Regions from separate parts of the Homo sapiens genome. Here regions 1 and 3 are each linked to region 2. The links are contacts of gene promoters, found by promoter capture Hi-C in human tissues and cell types (Jung and others, 2019). All regions are on one chromosome and are shown on one strand. Each heading gives the region's core, a stretch centred on a gene start or on the middle of the fragment in contact. The rest is flanking DNA. Distances are from core to core; before and after follow the strand shown. Region 1 overlaps MEI1 (meiotic double-stranded break formation protein 1). Region 2 holds the start of WBP2NL (WBP2 N-terminal like). Region 3 overlaps MEI1 (meiotic double-stranded break formation protein 1).

Evidence for each region. Contacts are between HindIII fragments. The study calls those that stand out against the background at their distance.
Region 1: a contact is called between a fragment that was not itself captured here and the fragment with the promoter of WBP2NL in region 2, in 2 of the 25 tissues and cell types used here (H1 embryonic stem cells and small bowel).
Region 3: a contact is called between a fragment that was not itself captured here and the fragment with the promoter of WBP2NL in region 2, in 1 of the 25 tissues and cell types used here (aorta).

What each region holds. Positions count from the first base shown.
Region 1 is chr22:41,794,297-41,796,996 of GRCh38, forward strand. It overlaps MEI1 (meiotic double-stranded break formation protein 1), which reads left to right. Exons shown (of 31, transcript NM_152513.4): 28 at 75-181; 29 at 1,115-1,246; 30 at 1,439-1,551. Among named protein-coding and RNA genes, the nearest start is that of CCDC134, 5.0 kb to the right of the region's middle. The HindIII fragment of the contact is 6,025 bases long and covers 1-2,700 here.
Region 2 is chr22:41,997,499-42,000,198 of GRCh38, forward strand. It overlaps WBP2NL (WBP2 N-terminal like), which reads left to right and starts at 1,290. Exons shown (of 6, transcript NM_152613.3): 1 at 1,290-1,382. The coding sequence starts at 1,321. SEPTIN3 (septin 3) reads left to right here. Exons shown (of 12, transcript NM_001363845.2): 12 at 1-723. RefSeq lists enhancers at 840-1,356, 1,357-1,871 and a silencer at 1,183-1,242. The HindIII fragment of the contact is 18,305 bases long and covers 1-2,700 here.
Region 3 is chr22:41,755,985-41,758,684 of GRCh38, forward strand. MEI1 (meiotic double-stranded break formation protein 1) reads left to right here. Exons shown (of 31, transcript NM_152513.4): 18 at 2,381-2,549. Among named protein-coding and RNA genes, the nearest start is that of CCDC134, 43 kb to the right of the region's middle. The HindIII fragment of the contact is 4,539 bases long and covers 1-2,700 here.

The sequences.
Region 1 (2,700 bases), core at 186-2,685, 200 kb before region 2:
ATAGGAGAAGGTCCTCTTGAGCAATGTCCCAAGGCAAGGTCTTGGAAGCATTAACAACCCAGTGTTTCTTGAAGCTCTCCACGTGGCCTCCCAGCCTTGGAATCGGTTTTTGCTGTTTACCCTCTTGGATGCTGGAGAGAATTCCTTCCTCAGACCTGAGATTTTGAGGCTCATGACCCTGGTAAGTGCAGAAAGGATATCTTGTGGTCTGAGGAGTGTCATGAGCTGGGTGGTGCTGAAGAGGCCAGGGTCTCCTTACTTTAGGTAACCCTAATCCTTAAAGAAGGTGGAAGGGCTCGGCAGGCCTTCACCCTACAAGAGACTTGCTGAAAGAATTCCTCTGAATGCCCATATCTCCTCACTCCAGGGGACTCCGACACCCTTTCCCCTATTTCTCTCATGACATGTTGACCAGGGCCTGTCTACCACATGCCAGGTCTGCTAGATACTAAGGATATCAATGAACCAGATACTCTGCCTTTAGGGTCCCTCAGTCTAAAGAGGACGACAGACAAGTAAACTAGTAATGTAAATATGATGCTACAAGTGGTAGAGTAGAGGAGATGCTAACTGTGGGGCACACAGTAAGTGCCCCTTGAATAAATAACAAAGCAGCAGGCCTAAGAATGACAGCGAAGTGGATCATCAACAAGTACATCAGTGGTTGGTGTAGGAACAAAGAGGAAAGAGTAATTGCTTCTCAGCAGTGAAGGTAACATTTTAGCTGTGGCTTGAGAGATTAATAGGCAGAGAGGAGGAAAGGTATTCCAGGTAGTGAAGTACAAACAACAGGTACAAGAGCACATGGTGGTATGTCAGGGGAGCCACACGTAGTTCATTTTGGCCATGAGTGTTCAGTGCAAGGTTGGGTAGGAGGGAGCCAAGGCCAAAGGGGTCAGGAGGGCCAGCTCTCTCAGGATCTCACAGGTTGCCTTACTTACCCCACTTCCCCATGACACAGTCCCACCTCTGCCCACTAACTCTGAGCTCCTTGAAGGCAGGCAGGTTCTGTGGGCTTCAGGACAGTGTCTCCTAAAGTTGGGGCACAGCAGTTGTCTATGATGAAGGAGATGCCAAATCACTGGGTGTTTGGGGGTTTCTCTTCCTGGGCCAGTTTATGCGGTACCGGAGTAGCAGTGTCCTCTCTCATGAAGAGGTGGGTGATGTTCTGCAAGGTGTGGCTTTGGCTGACCTGTCTACCCTCTCGAACACCACACTCCAGGCCCTGCATGGCTTCTTCCAGCAGGTGGGTGGGAAGGGGAGGCCATGCAGCCACTGTAAAGCTAGACCCTCAACACCATCTTCTCTTGGAGGGTGGGAGCTCTGGCCACAGCAACCAAGGAATGGGAGGAGGGAAGTACAGAGGATGGAGGCAGTTAGGGCCTGTGTGGAATGGGCACTGAGGAGGCCTGTCTTCCCTGCCCTCTTCTCCCTGCAGCTCCAGAGCATGGGACACCTGGCTGACCACAGCATGGCCCAGACCCTGCAGGCCTCCTTGGAGGGCCTTCCCCCTAGCACCTCCTCAGGCCAGCCACCCCTGCAGGACATGCTGTATCCTTTCTTGCATCTATGATGAAGGAGATGCCAAATCACTGGGTGTTTGGGGCTTCTCTTCCTGGGCCAGTTTATGCGGTACCGGAGTAGCAGTGTCCTCTCTCATGAAGAGGTGGGTGATGTTCTGCAAGGTGTGGCTTTGGCTGACCTGTCTTGGCCTGGGCAAGCTCTCCCAGGCCATAAGAAGCTGTGGCATCATGCTTCAGGACCTAGGTGCACTAGTCTTCTAAAGTAAGCAGGGGTCAATTAACAGTGTTGACAACAACAATGCCGTGTCCTGTTAATATTAAGTTCCTACAGAAAGCAGGCACATTACATGCATTTTACATATATATATATTTATTTATTCATTTTTGAGATGGAGTCTTGCTCCGTCGCCCAGGCTGGAGTGCAGTGGCACGATCTTGGCTCACTGTAACCTCCGCCTCCCAGGCTCAAGCGATTCTCCTGCCTCAGCCTCCCGAGTAGCTGGGACTACAGGTGCCTGCCACCACGCCCAGGTTTTTTTTTTTTTTTTCTATTTTTAGTAGAGACAGGGTTTCACCATATTGGACAGGCTGGTCTCGAACTCCTGACCTTGCGATCTGCCCCCCTCGGCCTCCCAAAGTGCTGGGATTACAGGCATGAGCCACCATGCCCGGCTACATGCATTATATTTAATCCTCACATCAGCTAGGAGTGTTAAGGTACTTGTAGTACAGGTTGAGCATCCCTAATACAAAAATTAGAAATCCAAAGTGCTCCAAAATCTGAAACTTTTTGAGTGCTGATGTGATGCTACAGGTGGAAAATTCCATACCTGACTTCACATGATGAGTTGCAGTCAAAATGTAGCCAAAACTTTGTTTCATGAATAGGCCAAGTGCGGTGGCTCACGCCTGAGGCCAGGAGTTTGAGACCAGTCTGGCCAACATGGTGAAACCTCATCTCTATGAAAAATACCAAAATTAGCTGGGTGTGGTGGCATGTGCCTGTAGTCCTAGCTACTCGGGAGGCTGAGGCACAAGAATCGCTTGAATCGGGGATGCGGAGGGCAGTGAGCCAAGATCACACCACTGTACTGCACCCTGGGCGACAAAACATGACTCTGTCCCAGAAAAAAAACAAAAAATTTTGTTTCATGAATAAAATTATATTTTTTACATT
Region 2 (2,700 bases), core at 40-2,539:
GATCACTTTTTAAAAAATCACCACTTGTGGCTGTCCCAGAGTGCGGTTGTACATCCTCCCCACCTCATAACGCAGCCACTGAGGAAGAGTGGTTTTCCTAAGAAGACATTGCTGGAGTTGACTTTCTTCTGTCCAAACAAACAAACAAAAACTAAACACACACACAAACCCCCAGAAACCCACAATATGTACACGCTAAGGAAAAACTAGCACCCTTCTGTCCACTCAGCAATAAGAGGGATCTCTTCCCACCTACCCTACCTACTCCTACCCCCAACCCCCTTCCCCATTAATGTGAGTAATGAATTAGCCTGACCACAGGTGGTCACTGTAGGCTAATGGAAAATACCCAAGGGAGGGCAAAGCCCCCCATCAGATGCATGAATGTTTGCGAATGTTGACTGCCACTGCCCCACACACTGTGTCTTTATAGAATTCCCCTTTGCCCACCCTCTTCCTGTCTCCACCTGGACACAACTTGCTCAAAGGCTGGTGACTTGTGGGCCATTCATCTACAACCAAGTCCTGATGGAGCAAGAGGCCCACGCCTAGGGGATGCAAGAACAACCCGTTTCTTAAATGTTACCAGTCCCAGCCAATCTTACGGTGACATTACAGTTAAATTTCCCAATTGAAAACAAGCAAACAGACACTCAAACTGGTCCTGTAATTGTTGCTAGACTTTATGTGTTGTACAACTAAACATTGCTGTTTGAACAGTAACTGCCTGGCCTGTCTTATTTGTGCTCCTTGACCAAATCAGCCATTATGTCATCTCACCCATGTGTGGAGGGTGAGACTCTCTTGGTAAGAAATAGCCACAGATATTAGAGATGAAAACACTTTGTGAGGTCAGTTCATCTTCAGTTGGCGTCAGGTCGGGCCTCAGTCATTATTTTCTAGTGTTTCATAACCAAAGTGAGTAATGGATGGGAGGTTGAGGTGGGAAGATGGCTTGAGCATGGGAGGTTGGAGGTGCAGTGAGCTGAGATCATTCCTGACAGGACCAACCCAAGTCCATACCTAAAGGCAGGGGGCTAAGGGGGCAGGTGAGGTCGGGAGGCCACTCACCTATCACTCACCCCTTCGCGCTCGAGCCAATTCTCAGGGCCCGCCTCTTTCTCCCCTTTCTCGGCGGGGGCCTCTACCCTGACTCCGCCCCGCTCCCCGGGCACTGCCCCACCACGTGACCCGGTCTCGCTCCTCCTCCTCCTCCTCCTTACGTCATAATCTCCGCCCTCCCCTTCAGAACCGCGCCCCACAGCTCGGCGCAGGTCCCGCCCCTTTCCATCTACGGGGCGGCAGGAGGCCCGAAGCAAGATGGCGGTGAATCAGAGCCACACCGAGAACCGCCGCGGAGCCCTCATCCCTAACGGTGAAAGGTGCCTGAGGGGAAGCACGGCGTGCTGTCGGAGGAGAGGAGACGAATGAGATAGACATGGCGGCTCGCAAACTCTCAGCGAGTCAGGGACTTTGCCGCCTTTTTTGGGCGCGGCGCTCTTAGCTCCGCCCCCGACCTTTGGGAGCGCGCGCCCCTCACTGGTGTTCCGGCATGTGGAGGTGGCGGAGGCCGGAACGCGTGGCCTCGCGCGTTTGAGGGGTGGGGGTGGGAATGCGCCTTTTCAAGGCGCGGGGCCCAGACGCATGTCTCCTCAGGGCGGGGCGGGGAGGGGGTGCGAGACGCGTGTGTCCTTCGAAGAGAGGCCGGAGCTGACCGGCGGTTGTGAGCAGCCGGGGGCCTTCGGTGGCAGCGTGGCTGCCCTTGGGTGCCTGCGACTTTGTTGGATGAGGACAGGTACTGGGTGTGTATCTCCTCCTACTTCCACGAACAAGGTGTCGCTCTTTGGTAAGAGGGATGAGGAGGTCGAGTGTGGATCATTCTGGAAAGATCTCAAACTGTTGTGGGGCTTCTCCTTGGACCTGGAAACTTTCTAAAGCCATGTTTCCTCCTTGCTCCAACCAGGGAGATGTCTGCTTTTAAAAACAAAATTGAAAAAATTGAGGCCAGGTGCAGTGGCTCATGCCTCTTATCCCAACAGTTTGGGAAGCTGAGGTGGCCCAGGAGTTTGAGACAAGACTGGGCAACATAGTGAGACCCCATCTCTACAAAAAGTAGAAAATTAGTGGGCCATGGTGGTGTGCACCCATAATCCCAGCTGCTTGGGAGGCGATGGTAAGAGGATTGCTTGAACCCAGGAGTTTGGGCTGCAGTGAGCTCAGATTGTACCACTGCACTCCAGCCTGGGTAACAGAGCCAGATCCTGTCTTAAAATAAAAGATGGGACTGAACAGATGCCTGGGCACAACAAAGCACTGTTGGTCGCAGGAAGCTGTGGGGCTTACACCAGTTGCTTTGCTCCTTGCGGTGCCTGCTGCTGGCCCCTGAGCTCTCTACTGGAGCAGACTCAGCCAGAGGGGTGCCCATCTCCACCTTCAAGCACACTTGTTCACTAAGGCCTGACTCCACTGCGCTCACCTCTTTACCCCACACGCCCCCTTTCCCGTTTCCTACACTCAAACTCAGTCTCCCCCGCTGTGCAGTTCTAAATTGCGCTCCTTTCTGGGCTCTGACTTGCCCTCAATTTCCTTTTCTCCCAACCAGCATTGAAACTCAAGCTGGATGATGTGCTTGGGGCCAGCACACTCAGGTCAGTTTGAATGTAGTTGTCAGGAAGATCGAAGTAGACGTTACCAAATGCT
Region 3 (2,700 bases), core at 9-2,508, 240 kb before region 2:
TCTGAAAACAAAGTCTTAACATCTTAACTCCCCTGGCTTTCAGCTGTGGTCTCCACACATCAGTCTGTGGAGTAGTGTCAAATAGTGATGAAGTTTTCTCTGGTCCATGGTGAAATGTGGAACATAAGGATAAAGTTGACTTTATTTAGGTTTTTTTGTTTGTTTTGTTTTTTGAGGCAGAGTCTCAGTCTGTTGCCCAGGCTGGAGTTGAGTGATGTCAGCTCACTGCAACCTCCACCTCCCAGATTCAAGTGATTCTTGTGTCTCAGCCTCACGAATAGCTGGGACTACAAGCATATGTCACCATGCCCAGGTGATTTTTTTGTATTTTTAGTAGAGATGGGGTTTTGCCATGTTGGCCAGGCTGGTCTTGAACTCCTGGCCTCAAACAATCTACCTGCCTTGGACTCCAAAGTGCTAGGATTACAGGTGTGAGCCACCGCACCTGGCCTTTATTCAAATTTTAAACTCTGAAGTCAGTCTTTTTCTTTCCTTTTTTTTTGTTTTGGGACAGCGTCTTGTTCTGTTGCCCAGGCTGGAGTGCAGTGGCGTGATCTCGGCTCATTGCAACCTCCACCTCCCGGGTTCAAGCAATTCTCCTGCGTCAGCTTCCTGAGTAGCTAGGACTACAGGCACTTGCCACCACGCTTGTCTAATTTTTGTATTTTTAATAGAGACAGGGTTTTGCCATGTTGGCCAGGCTGGTCTCGAACTCCTGACCTCAGGTGATCCACCTGCCTTGGTTTCCCAAAGTGCTGGCATTACCGGCTTGAGCCACCACGCCTATCCTTCTTTCCTGTTCTTTTGGTATTAAAATATTCTTTCTTTTATGAAACCGTTTTCGTAAGAAATCTAGAAGTCTCTGCCCTCAGGATGAAGTCCCAATTCCTTAAGTGGCATTTGCTTAAAGGTCTTTCACAGTCCAACTGCAGATTACATCACATAGTTCCCCAGCTTCTGACACCCCACATCTATTCACTGACTATCCAGTGACACTGAATGGAAACATGGCATGTCTTCTCATGCCTTCAGGCCTCTGAACACCTTGCTTCCTTTTCTCTTTTCTCCTGTCGCTGCCTCTTTTCTCCTCACCCTCCACAGTTTGTTTCTTTCTTTCTTTCTTTTTTTGAGACGGAGTCTCGCTCTGTCGCCCATGCTGGAGTGCAGTGACATGATCTCGGCTCACTGCAGGCTCCGCCTTCTGGGTTCACGCCATTCTCCTGCCTCAGCCTCCCAAGTAGCTGGGACTACAGGGGCCCGCCACCTCGCCTGGCTATTTTTTTGTATTTTTAGTAGAGACGGGTTTTCACCGTGTTAGCCAGGATGGTCTTGATCTCGTGACCTCGTGATCCGCCAGCCTCGGCCTCCCAAAGCTTGCTTTCTTTTTTCTGAGATGGAGTTTCGCGCTTGTCATTCAGGCTGGAGTGCAATGGTGCCATCTCAGCTCACTGCAACCTCTGCCTCCCAGGTTCAAGCGATTCTCCCACCTCAGCCTCCCAAGTAGCTGGGATTACAGGCGCCCGCCATCATAGCCGGCTAATTTTTGTATTTTTGTAGGGACGGGGTTTCACTATGTTGGCCAAGCTGGTCTTGAACTCCTGACCTCAGGTGATATACCCTCCTCAGCCTCCCAAAGTGCTGGGATTACAGCCTGGCCCACAGTTTCTTCCTCTTTGACCTTTCCTTCCCCATGCCAGGCAGCCTGAGTCACTCCCTCCTCAATATAGCGCTGATCACATGTCCTGCAATTGCCTGTCTCATTATGTGTCTCTTCCCATCAGCTGCCAGTTCCTGGAGGTAGGGCCTGGGTCTCACAGCCTGTCCTGAGTAGTAGCCACTCAATGAACATATGTCAAATGAATGAAAGAATGAATGTTTTTGGGAGGCCAAGGTGGGTGAATCACCTGAGGTCAGGAGTTTGAGACCAGCCTGGCCAACATGGCAAAACCCTGCCTCTACTAAAAATACAAAAAATTAGCTGGGCGTGGTGGTGGGTGCCTGTAATCACAGCTACTTGGGAGGCTGAGGCAGGAGAATTGCTTGAACCCAGAACGGGGAGGTTGCAGTGAGCCGAGATCATGCCATTGCACTCCAGCATGGGCAACAGAGCGAGACTCTGTCAAAAGAAAAACAAAACAAAAAAGGAATGAACGTTAATTTTTGAGACATATCCATGTCCTTCTGCTTGTGAAGTTTAGTCTTTCCCGGTAGGTTGAACCTTGCTCAAAGGAAGAGGAGCCTCTGATTTCCTTATTTCCCACTATACTGCATTTACCCTTGCTGCCCTGTGCAGTACTCTGCATGTAGTAGGTACTAATGTGCTGATTACCTGTTCTTCTATGTTCTCTGTGTGGCTTTCCTCTACTTATTCCCTCCCTAGAACTCTCTGCAGTGTCTGAGCTCCTGCAGCATGGGCTGCCCCAGATAAGCAGCAGGAGCCCTGAAAGCCTTGCCTTCCTGTCTGATCGCCAGTACATGGAGGGAGCTGCTCGCCAGAGACAGTACTGCATCCTGCTCCTCTTCTACTTGGCCTACATCCATGAAGACAGGTCAGTGCACAGAGGTGGGTGGCTGGTGGTGGGTCTTGGGACCTTCATCAGCAGTTCAGTTCAATAAATAAGGGCATCTCTCCAAGCCTGATGCTGGGCACTGGGGACACGGGGATAAGTAAGAAATGGGTTGTGTCCCTGAGAGGCTCAT